Regions from separate parts of the Homo sapiens genome. Here region 1 is linked to region 2. Evidence: promoter capture Hi-C in human tissues and cell types (Jung and others, 2019). All regions are on one chromosome and are shown on one strand. Each heading gives the region's core, a stretch centred on a gene start or on the middle of the fragment in contact. The rest is flanking DNA. Distances are from core to core; before and after follow the strand shown. Region 1 overlaps LOC105373053 (a long non-coding RNA gene). Region 2 holds the start of SCUBE1 (signal peptide, CUB domain and EGF like domain containing 1).

Region 1 (4,855 bases), core at 107-2,606, 42 kb after region 2:
ATTCCAGATATGTGAATTTGGAATTCACCAAATTAATAGCCCAGCTCTCTCTGGAAGATGGTGGGATGAACCAAATCCTAATTTGGCTAAACAGTCAAAGAACAAATCAGTTCAAGCTTACCCAAATTTCTACTCCACAGTGGAGAAACACAGTCAACACTTACCAGTTTACCTTATTCGGTTAGCATAAGCTGGCTAATCAGATGATGACAGTACAATAAAGAAAACTTTCAAGTCAATTTTACCCATGAGCATAGATTCCAAGAATTCTTGAAAATTATTAGCACAGTGAATTCAGCAATAATAATAAAAAATACAGTACAGGCCGGGTGCAGTGGCTCACGCCTATAATCCCAGCACTTTGGGAGGCCGAGGCAGGTGAATTGCCCGAGCTCAGGAGATTGAGACCACCTGGGCAACATGGTAAAACCCGTCTCTACTAAAAATACAAAAAATTAGCCAGGTGTGGTGGCAGGCGCCTGTAGTCCCAGCTACTTGGGAGACTGAGGCAGGAGAATCTCTTGGACCCTGGAGGCAGAGGTTGCAGTGAGCCGAGATCGTGCCACTGCACTCCAGCCTGGGCTACAGAGTGAGACTCCATCTCAAAGAAAAAAAAAACAAAAACAAAAAACCCCAGCATATTATGATGAAGTTATGTTTATCTTATGAATGCAATTCCTATTATTAGGAAATTAATTAATATAATTCATTCCATTAACAGCTTAAAGAAAAAACACATAATCATTGCAATAGGACCTGGGTGACATCAGGCACTATTGTTCACCTGGTTGAGGTTTGGGAGACTTTACGACTTATACTGTGGGCAGGAGATAGTGGAGGGGCCCCGTCTATGGGAATCGGGTGGGAAACTGAGAAGGGTGTGCATGGAAGTGGCAATGATTATGAATCTGGCTTTGGACAAAATAGGATAGGAGGTAGTACTCTACGCGCCCCCTTCCTGCTTTTTGGGGCCTGGAGAGGAAACCCAAGTTATCTAAATGGCTTGACTCTTCCTCTCCCTCTGCCCACACCCACCCCCATCTCGCTATCTCACTGTAAGTCTCTTCTGTGATTATTATCACCTGGGGGTTGCAACCTCCAAAGCCTACAGTGGCCAGACAGGTGGCAAAAATGTATAACGTGGGCTGAGCGTAAAAAATATTAGATATTACACAGTTTACATATAATGCATTTTGGTTGCATGCTTCTTAAAAATTGCCTTCTGTCACCTGAAGAAAATTGTTTCTGATTTTTTTTCTTCAAATAGGCAGACTTCTCTGCCCAGCTTTCTTTCCTGCACACTTGATGGGGCAAGGAAATACTCCCTCGCTGTAAAAAGCACATCAGTGAAGCCCAGTGCTCGACAGCAGCTGACCTGGGCCCCCAGAGCTGGGGATGCAGCAGGGAGCGGTGAAGCCTGTAGCAAACTGAAGAGTGTGTGTCCCAATCCGAAATCACAGCCCAGATGTAGTTCAAGGCAATTTTTGTCATCTTAAAAAACGGGCCTGGGGAGAATCCACAGAGTTTGGTGATGAGTTGGATGGGAGATGTGGGGTTAAGGAGCTCAGAGAAGTTTTGGGAGATGCCAGGTTTCAGGCTGGGGGTCTCTGTGCAGTGGTGCCTCCCACTGACAGAAGACAGAGAGGGAAGGGCAATGGCTTTGGACAAACTGAGTTTGCAACTGGCTGTAGGACATCCTGGGGGCTGTCGTGGGTGGGTCAGGGCTCCAGGAGGCAGCCCATTCTCTCTGGAAGACGGTGGGACGAACCAATACGGCCTCTGAGTCTGACTCTGCGTCTACCTCAGGCAAATTGCGTCAGCCTCTGGAGTCTCCTTTTCTTCTGCACGGAGGCAGTGATACCATGAAGCCTCCACTTCTGTGAAATGGAGACTTGGACCTGGTCAGTGGTTCCGTGCTTCTTTTGATTATTCGCCGCACCCCAGCCTGGCAGAGGCACTTGATGTTATCCGGAGCCTGGGCTGCCTGGGTGGGGACACAAGCCTCCATTTCACAGAAGAAGTGGAGTCTTTCATGCACCAAGGCAGCGGAGGGGGCAGGACACAGCCTGGGCCCCTCGCAGACCCTAGAGGTCCCCGACGTGGCCCCTTCCTCCTCTGAGCCTTGCTGGCTGCAACCGCCCAGTCGTTCTCAGCAGGGATGGAAGAAGCCTCAGTGCGAAGCCCGGCGATGGCCGGGGCGCTGCTGCCCTCGTGTGGCCGACATGGAGAGGTGCCGGTTATGATGAGCAGGGAGTGATTTTCTGGCGAAACGCGGCCGCACGGCTCAGGCTGTTCCACTGACAAACTGCAGCTGACTCTCCCTGTTGACCGGGGTTTGATTCCAGCACTGCCCAGCTGGAACCCAGCACTGCGTGACACTGGGAATGTCTCTTTTCTGGGCCTCAGTTTCCCCAGCTGGAAAATGATGGAAGCAGGGGTTTTATGGGGGCTAAGTGAAGTCACGGATGTGAGAGTACCAAGCATTGTGCAAGGTGGTTGGTGTGTGCACGGTCCAAATTTGCCCATCCAGTCTTTCTTTCTCTTTCTTACTCTTTCTTTCTTTCTCTCTCTTTCTTTCTTTTCTTTCTTTCTTCTTTCTTTCTTTTCCTTCCTTTTCTTTCTTCTTTCTTTTCCTTCCTTCCTTCCTTCCTCCCTCCCTCCCTCCCTCCCTCCCTCTTTCTTTCTTCTTCTTTTCTTTCTTTCTTTCTTTCTCTTTCTTTTCTCTCTCTCTTTCCTTTCTTTCTTTGTTTTCTTTCTTTCTTCTTTCTTCCTTTTCCTTCCTTCCTCCCTCCCTCCCTCTTTCTTTCTTCTTTCTTTCTTTCTTCCTTTCTTTTCTCTCTCTTTCTTTCTTTCCTCTCTCTCTCTTTCTTTCTTTCCTCTCTCTCTCTTTCTTTCTTTCCTTCTTTCTTTCTTTTCAGAGTTTCGCTTTTGTTGCCCAGGCTGGAGTTCAATGGTGCTATCTCAGCTCACTGTAACCTCCGCCTCCCAGGTTCAAGCGATTCTCCTGCCTCAGCCTCCCAAGTAGCTGGGATTACAGTCACACACCACCACACCCAGCTAATTTTTTGTATTTAGTAGATACAGGGTTTCAGCATGTTGGTCAGGCTGGTCTCGAACTCCTGACCTCAGGTGATCCACCCGCCTCAGCCTCCCAAAGTGCTGGGATTACAGGAGTGAGCCACTGCGCCCGGCCTGCCCATCCATTATTCATCCATCATCTGGGGAGGCTGACAAGGTCCAGCCTGGGCAGCCATCTCCATCAGGGCTAACTCTGTGAGCACCAATTCCCCCGAGGCACTCTGCCCTCTGCTGACGGGATCATCTCGTCTTACCTGCCACCACCTGGGAGGCAGGTGTCACCGACATCCACATGGGAATGAGACAGGACAGCAGTGGGTGAGTGAGGTGACCTGCCCAAGGGCACAAGGCTTTGAAAACAGCAGTGGTGGGTTGGGAGCTGGACTCGAACCTGGCCTGTCTTTTCCACCACTTTTAGAGAAGTGCAGGACTCACACATAGGAGGGCTTTGGATTCCAGCTCAAGGAGGGTCTGCAGGTTACAGTGAGGGCCCGAAACTCAGAAAGCGAGGGGGCCTGCCCAGCAGTCTGGCCCGCGGAGCCCTCCCAGCTGCCCATGGATTGCATCACTGTCCCAAGGGGAGACAGGGCTGTCCTGCCGGCTGCCTCTTTGAGTCACCGTGTGGCCAGGGAGTCCTGCTGGCCTCCACAGTCACCGCCAAACCATTTTGGCCTTGGTCTTTCAAAGCCAGGTCATTTTGGGAAAACTGAGGACATCCAGCACCATGGAGGGGCGTGTGTGTCTCTGCACTGGCTGATGAAGGGAGGTGGGTGGGGAGAGTTAGAGTGCTTCGATCAACCTTGACCTTTAGACCAGCCGGTCTGACCTCTCATTATATAGACAGGCAGGGAAACTGAGGCCAGGGAGGAGATGGCAATTTGTAGGGGGCCCAGGCATGCTATGTTTTACTGCAGGCCCCTCTTCTGTTATGAAGGATGGTGGGCTAGTTTGCTGAAAAGGGAGGTGAGCAGAGGCAGAGGAAGGTGGTCTCTCGGGGACAGTGTCTGAGGACTCCGTTCTGTCTGCTTGTCGTTTTAGACAAGAGAGTCTGCAGCTCTTGCAGGGGGCCTGGTGTAACCCCTATAACCCCTAGCAGTGGTTGCAACCTGCTGAAACCAGCCTTTGGGGAAAGAGCTGCTCCCTGGACCCTTGTGAGGGAGGGGGTTGGAGGCTATTTCTGCAAACTGGCAGTGGGTCTATTGGGGACCCTGCACCTTCCCAGCCTCCTGGGGCCTGGACGACCCGGGTCCCTATCTGAGCCCCACCTTCTCTTGCTGTGTGATATTAGGGGAGTCACTGCACCTCTCTGAGCCTCCTCTGTAATATAGCAATGAATCCTACCTTGCAGAACTGGTGAGGAGATCATCTTAAACCGTGCTCCGTTCTCTCCTTCTCCACTAAGCGTGATTGTGCTTGCAATTAAATGGTTCTTTGTGTAATAAGTTGTTTAATCTCAGCCGCCGGTCCTCAGAGCCTGCAGGGACCATGAACATCTTGTTGGTCACCATGTCACTGGGCTGCCCCGCTGCACATTTGGGGAGTGAATGGAGATTTTTAGTCTGACACACCTCCAACATGTAAAAACGTCATGTCTGGGAAAAACACCTGAAACAGCTGTTGGGAGAAACTTGTGGGGAGGAGGATGTCGCGCCCCCGGCGGGAGCCCGGGACACATTGCCCAGGGCTGCAGACCGCTGTGCCCGTCTCAGTCTGGAAGGACCAAGGAGATGAGTGGGCACCAGCGTGCACTTCTCGCTTGCGTCCAGCAGGTGGCGCC
Region 2 (5,044 bases), core at 1,527-4,026:
CTATAATCCAGGTTGATTCCTCAGGTTATAGATGAGGAAATGAGGCCCAGTGAGGTGAAATCTGTTATGGGTCAGTAGCTCACTGGGGCTGAGACTGGACTCTGACACAGAATGAGCTTTCCTATGTGCCATGTGACTTCTAGCTAGCAATGCATGAAATGTAGACATGACAGACAGACAGAAGGACCCAGGAGTGCAGCAGTGCAAGGAACTCTCAGCAGCTGCCATGAGGGCAGTGCCCCAGGGGTAAGCTTGGAATGTCCCCATCTCTTCATGCCTCTGGTCTCACCTTAGATTGCTGGGTCCCCAAGAGTGTCCACTCTAAATTTCTCCCCTGGATAATATCTGGGTTCGAAATCTGCCAGTGGGGCCTATGAGATCCATGCCCCCCAGGGCTTCTCCTTCTTTGCCCTAGCCCCTAAGTCTCCTGCCCACCCCTGAAGGAAGAGAGGCATCAACAAGAAACACAACAGCATGACCCCCCTGCACACACACACACACACACATGCATGCACGTGTGCGCACACACACGGCAGGTGGCATTGCTTTCCGGGGGGGGCTACCCATCTGCTCAGGTGGGCGGCCTGTCCTAGACAGCTGCCCAGGGGAAGAGTGGAAAGGGGACAAGGAGGCAGGAACTGGAGGGGGCCCAGCCGGCAACTGGATGGCTGGGCCAGCAGGAACATCCATGAGGGCCTTCTGGGGAAGTGGCAACAGAGGGACACTGTGCAGGACTGGCACTGCCTCTAAGGCAGGGACCCAGAGGCCAGAGAGGGCCCATCTCCAGGCTTCTGTTTGGGAGGACTGGGGTCACTTATGAGACAGGACCAGCAGGGGCAGTGGGCCACAGATATGGCTCTTCCCACTTCCCAGGGGCCAGTATGTAGGAATGAGGGGTGGGAGCCCCTTGTGCCCTCACCCCTAATCTCCCACCTAGGCAGGTGTCTTCACTGGAATGGAAATGGATGGATGTTGATGAGGGGTGGGTGGAGCTATCTCCCAACACACCTTTAAACACTTGGGTGTCCTTGGTGTGGAGTGTGGGGAGAGGACATGGGAGTTTGAGGAGAGAGAGGGAGAAGCCACTTGTCCCCATCGGTTCTCTGCCATGCTCCCGCTCCTGTCTGGGCTGGAGACTCCCCTGCAGGGCGACCCAGCCCTCCTAGCACAGGCTGCTCCCTTTGACTCTGGTTTGCTTATGCTGGGGACATGCTGCTGGGGTTTCACAGTCACAGGGCTTCCACGGAGAGGGTCGTGGAGGAGACAGAGTCAGATACAGAGAGACACGAGGAGGGACACAGGTGGGGATAGGCACGCCCAGGAACAGTCACTCAGAGGTGAGGGACCCCAAAGCTTGGGAGAGACACCCACAGACACAAGGGGGATGATGGGGCAGCAGGGCTGGGCTTCCAGGAGGGGTGTTGCTGTGGAAGAGTCTCACAGGCCCAGCATCCTCACTCGGGGCACGCGGGACCACCAGGAATAGACCCTACGCCACCCATACCAGACCTCAGGAAGCCGGGAAGGACGTGCAGGACCCTCCCCCTGCCTCCCCCTCCAAGCAGAGCACCGGAGGAAGCGCCTCTGATGACGAGGAGGGGAGAATGTGACTCCAGCTTTTCGGGAAGCCCCTGAAGACAGAGAGCAGGAGGGGACCGGGTGGGAGGGTGGGGGGGTCCCCGTGAAACCCACGGGCCTGGGCCTGTGGCCTCCGGGTCTCCCCCTCCCCTTCCTGGGTCTGCTCCACCGACGTCCCGCGTCCGGACTCTCCTCCCTGTGTCTGTCCTCCGGATCCTCTGCCTTCCTTCCCTCTGTCTTTCCTCCCCGTCCTGTCAGACGGTCCCGGTCCCTCGTCTGCGGCTTTCCAGGTATCTCTGTCCCTCTCTCTTTCCCGGTCTCCCTCTCACCGCCCCCCCCAACCCCGTTTTTCTGCGGCGTCCATCTGTCCCCCGTCTCCTCCTCTCTCTCTCCCTTATCATCGGTGGGACCATCCCTCTTGATTCCCCCTGATCCACCGGCCTCCTCCTCCTTCCCCGGGCGGTGCGGGCCTCCTCTCTACCCTTCCGCATCTGTCTTTTCTCCGGGCTTCCTTTTGTCTGCTCCCTCGGCGCCGGCTCTTCTGTCCGTCTGTCCCGCACCTCCCGCCCCGTCCCGGTCTCTCGGTCCGTCCCTTTCCCCGTCCACCTCCTGGCGTGTCCCCCTCCGCCCGCCCCGCCCCGCGCCCCCTCTCCCAGGAGGAGCGCCCCTCTGCGCTCGGGGTCCCGCCCCGCCCAGGTCCGCACGCGGGGTCCCCGGGAACCGCCGCCTTTCTTCCTCGCTCCCGCGCTCGCGCTTCCCCTCCCGGGGCCCCGGCCCACCCACCCCTGGTGCGGCCCCGCCGGACTCAGGAGCCCCGGCCGCCCGGGCTGCGGGGAGGGGGCGCCCCGGGCCGGCCCTAGAAGTTACTTTGCAAAGAGGCAGGGGGCGCGGGGCCGCGCGGGGCGAGCTCGGGATCCGCGGGGAAGAAGCCCTCCGGGACCGCGCCTCGGCCGCCCGAGCCCCCCGCGCCCGCCGCCCCCCACCTCGGTCGGGGGCTTACCTGGGAGCCCGCTGCCCCCGGCCAGCCGCCCGCGTGTGCCCAGGGCCAGCAGCACGCACAAGTGCCAGCGCACGGCCGCCGCGCCCATGCTCAATGCGGGCCCCGCTGGGCGTGCGGGCGTGCGGGGCGCGGGGACCCGACCGACCGGCCGCTCCCGCAGGCGCTGCTCGCTGCTCGCCGCTCCGCCACCGCTCGGGCTCCCGAGCCGCCCAGCCAGCCCGGCTGATGAGCTGACAGCGCGCGCTCATTGGCCCGTGGCGTCGGAGGGGCGGGGCGTCGCCCAGGGCCGGCCAATGGGCGCCGGCCTCCGGCCCTCCGAGGAAGAGGGGGGCTCGGGCGTCGTCGGGGGGACCCTTCCCCTGGGGCGGGCGGCAGGTGGGGGGTGTGGGCCTGGCCGGCCGGCTCGCTAGGCGCGGGGTCTAGGCCAGGCTGGGGCTGCTTGGAGGCTGCGCCCTCCCCTGCCCGCGGCGCCCCGGCCCCCGCCGTCGAGAGTGGACGCCCCTCTGGGGTAACCCCTCCCGGCCCAGAGGCAGCCTCGGGGGCGGGGATCCTGCGAACCGGGGATCCCGTGAGGTCGCCCGCCATCCGTGGGCAGTGAAACGCGCCAGCGCGCAGAGCAGACTCGCCTGCGCTGCCGTTTGCTGGACGTTTCTTGAGCACCTACTGGGGACCGAGTGCGGGCGAGGCAGCAGCGAAGGAACCGGGAGGGGAAACCTCGTGAAGATCACTTGAAAATTGACGTTCAAAACAAACGAACTTTTTAGCACTCGTCAAAGGACAGTGGCCCGTCAGTGTGCTTGTCACGGGGCGGCCGCAGGACCTGCGTCTGGAACCGGGCGGGCGCCCGGGACGGACAATGCCGCTTGGCGGTCGGTCCCGCGGGAGGCCCCCGCACGGGGCTAACCTCGGCCGGCGAAGTTCGCTGCCCGGAATGCGAGGCCGAGGCCTCCCCCTGTGACAGACCGGGCGGGGCCAGGAGGAGGGGCAGGGCGGGCATCCCGGTCCGAAGACCCAGGAACTGCTCTGGCCTGGCCTGGGGTCTACACCTGACGCCTGGCGAGGGTTGGCTTCGGGTCTGGTCCCACCGGGCCTGGGAGGGACGGGCGGCTGGAAATAAATGGCCCCTCTCAGTTCCAGGCAGGACGCTTTAAGGGACGAAAGTTCAGCAAACCCCAAGGCCCATCTCCTTGACAACCACCAATAAGAGCTCCTTTTTTCTTCTCCTGCTCTCCAGGCCCAACTCAAAGACAACTCTTTTCTCTTTTTGTCCACTCTGCCTGCACCAGTTTGAGCCCCTCCACACCAGCTCCCTTTCCTGCCCCCAACACACACACGCACACACACACACACACACACACACACACACACACACACAGTCACACATGCAGACACATGCTCTCACGTGCAATCACTCAGACACAGCCTCACACCCTCACACCCTCCAGCACACACACGCTCACACATGCTTCTTCACGCCCTCATCCAACCTACCGTAGACGAGCTCCTCAGCCCTGGAAGGTTAAATCTGTGTCCAGCCAGCTCTCACACCCCATCTGACTTCACATCAGCTTGTGGCACGGGCCTGGTGGCTGAGGCAAGGGGTCCCCTACATGGGGATCGGGGGTGTGGGGGGTCCAGAGATGCCCAAAGAAGAAGGAAGCGCTGCCTGTTGTCTCCACTGAGCCCCCACCCCATTGCTCCAGACATTTCGGTCTGCACGGCTGCTCCTGGCTGCTGGTTTAATTTGGGAGATGCTGTTGACAGGCTTTATTTTGTCCCCGTCAATTGTGTAGCTTTGAGTTTCTGCAGGGGGTGGGGAGTTCCCTCAGAACCACATATTATCTTGTGCATTGGGCAACAGGGCAAGCAGTGTGAGGTGGTGGGGGAGGTTCTTCCAGGGGGCTCTGACCTACTTGAAACAATGCCCTCTAATGTGCCTGGTCATTAGGCACCCCCCCGCCCAGCCCTAGCCAGGTGCCCCTCAAGCTTGATGGCAGCAAGAGAAGCTTCTTCCAGGCTCCATCCCCACAAATCAAGGCAGGAATGGAGGCAGGTTACTCTGTGACCCCTCAGCCCAGAGGTAGCTGTCCCTTGTACCAAGTTGTAGTCCCCAGCCTGCCCCCAAGCGATTGCTCAGGTCAAGTTTGCTGGTGAATTATCACCCTCTAAGGTGTGCAGGCAGAGAGAAAGTGGTTCCTTCTAGGCAGCTGTTGTCTATGTGGAGGACTCAGCGAGCAGAGGAGGAGGGAAATGGAGAGAAGACACACCTGTAAGCCCCTCACAGGTGAAGGAAAGGAGGCGGCCTGTGGAGCAGAGAAAGAGGAGGTCACTTCTGCCCCAGGGCGCCGTCAGGGAGGCCTCTTAGGACAGGTGACCTGGGCTAGACACAGAACATAAAGAGGATATTTGCCTAATGGATGAGAAGAACAAATAGAGAATCTGCCAAGGTCCATGAGTGAAGGCGAG

What was found. Contacts are between HindIII fragments. The study calls those that stand out against the background at their distance.
Region 1: a fragment that was not itself captured here is called in contact with the fragment with the promoter of SCUBE1 in region 2 in 1 of the 25 tissues and cell types used here (IMR-90 fibroblasts).

What each region holds. Positions count from the first base shown.
Region 1 is chr22:43,383,668-43,388,522 of GRCh38, forward strand. LOC105373053 (a long non-coding RNA gene) reads right to left here. Exons shown (of 4, transcript XR_938288.3): 3 at 4,420-4,552. Among named protein-coding and RNA genes, the nearest start is that of LINC01639, 14 kb to the right of the region's middle. RefSeq lists an enhancer at 4,395-4,855. The HindIII fragment of the contact is 8,457 bases long and covers 1-4,855 here.
Region 2 is chr22:43,340,596-43,345,639 of GRCh38, forward strand. SCUBE1 (signal peptide, CUB domain and EGF like domain containing 1) reads right to left here and starts at 2,777. Exons shown (of 22, transcript NM_173050.5): 1 at 2,579-2,777. The coding sequence starts at 2,666. The HindIII fragment of the contact is 4,801 bases long and covers 803-5,044 here.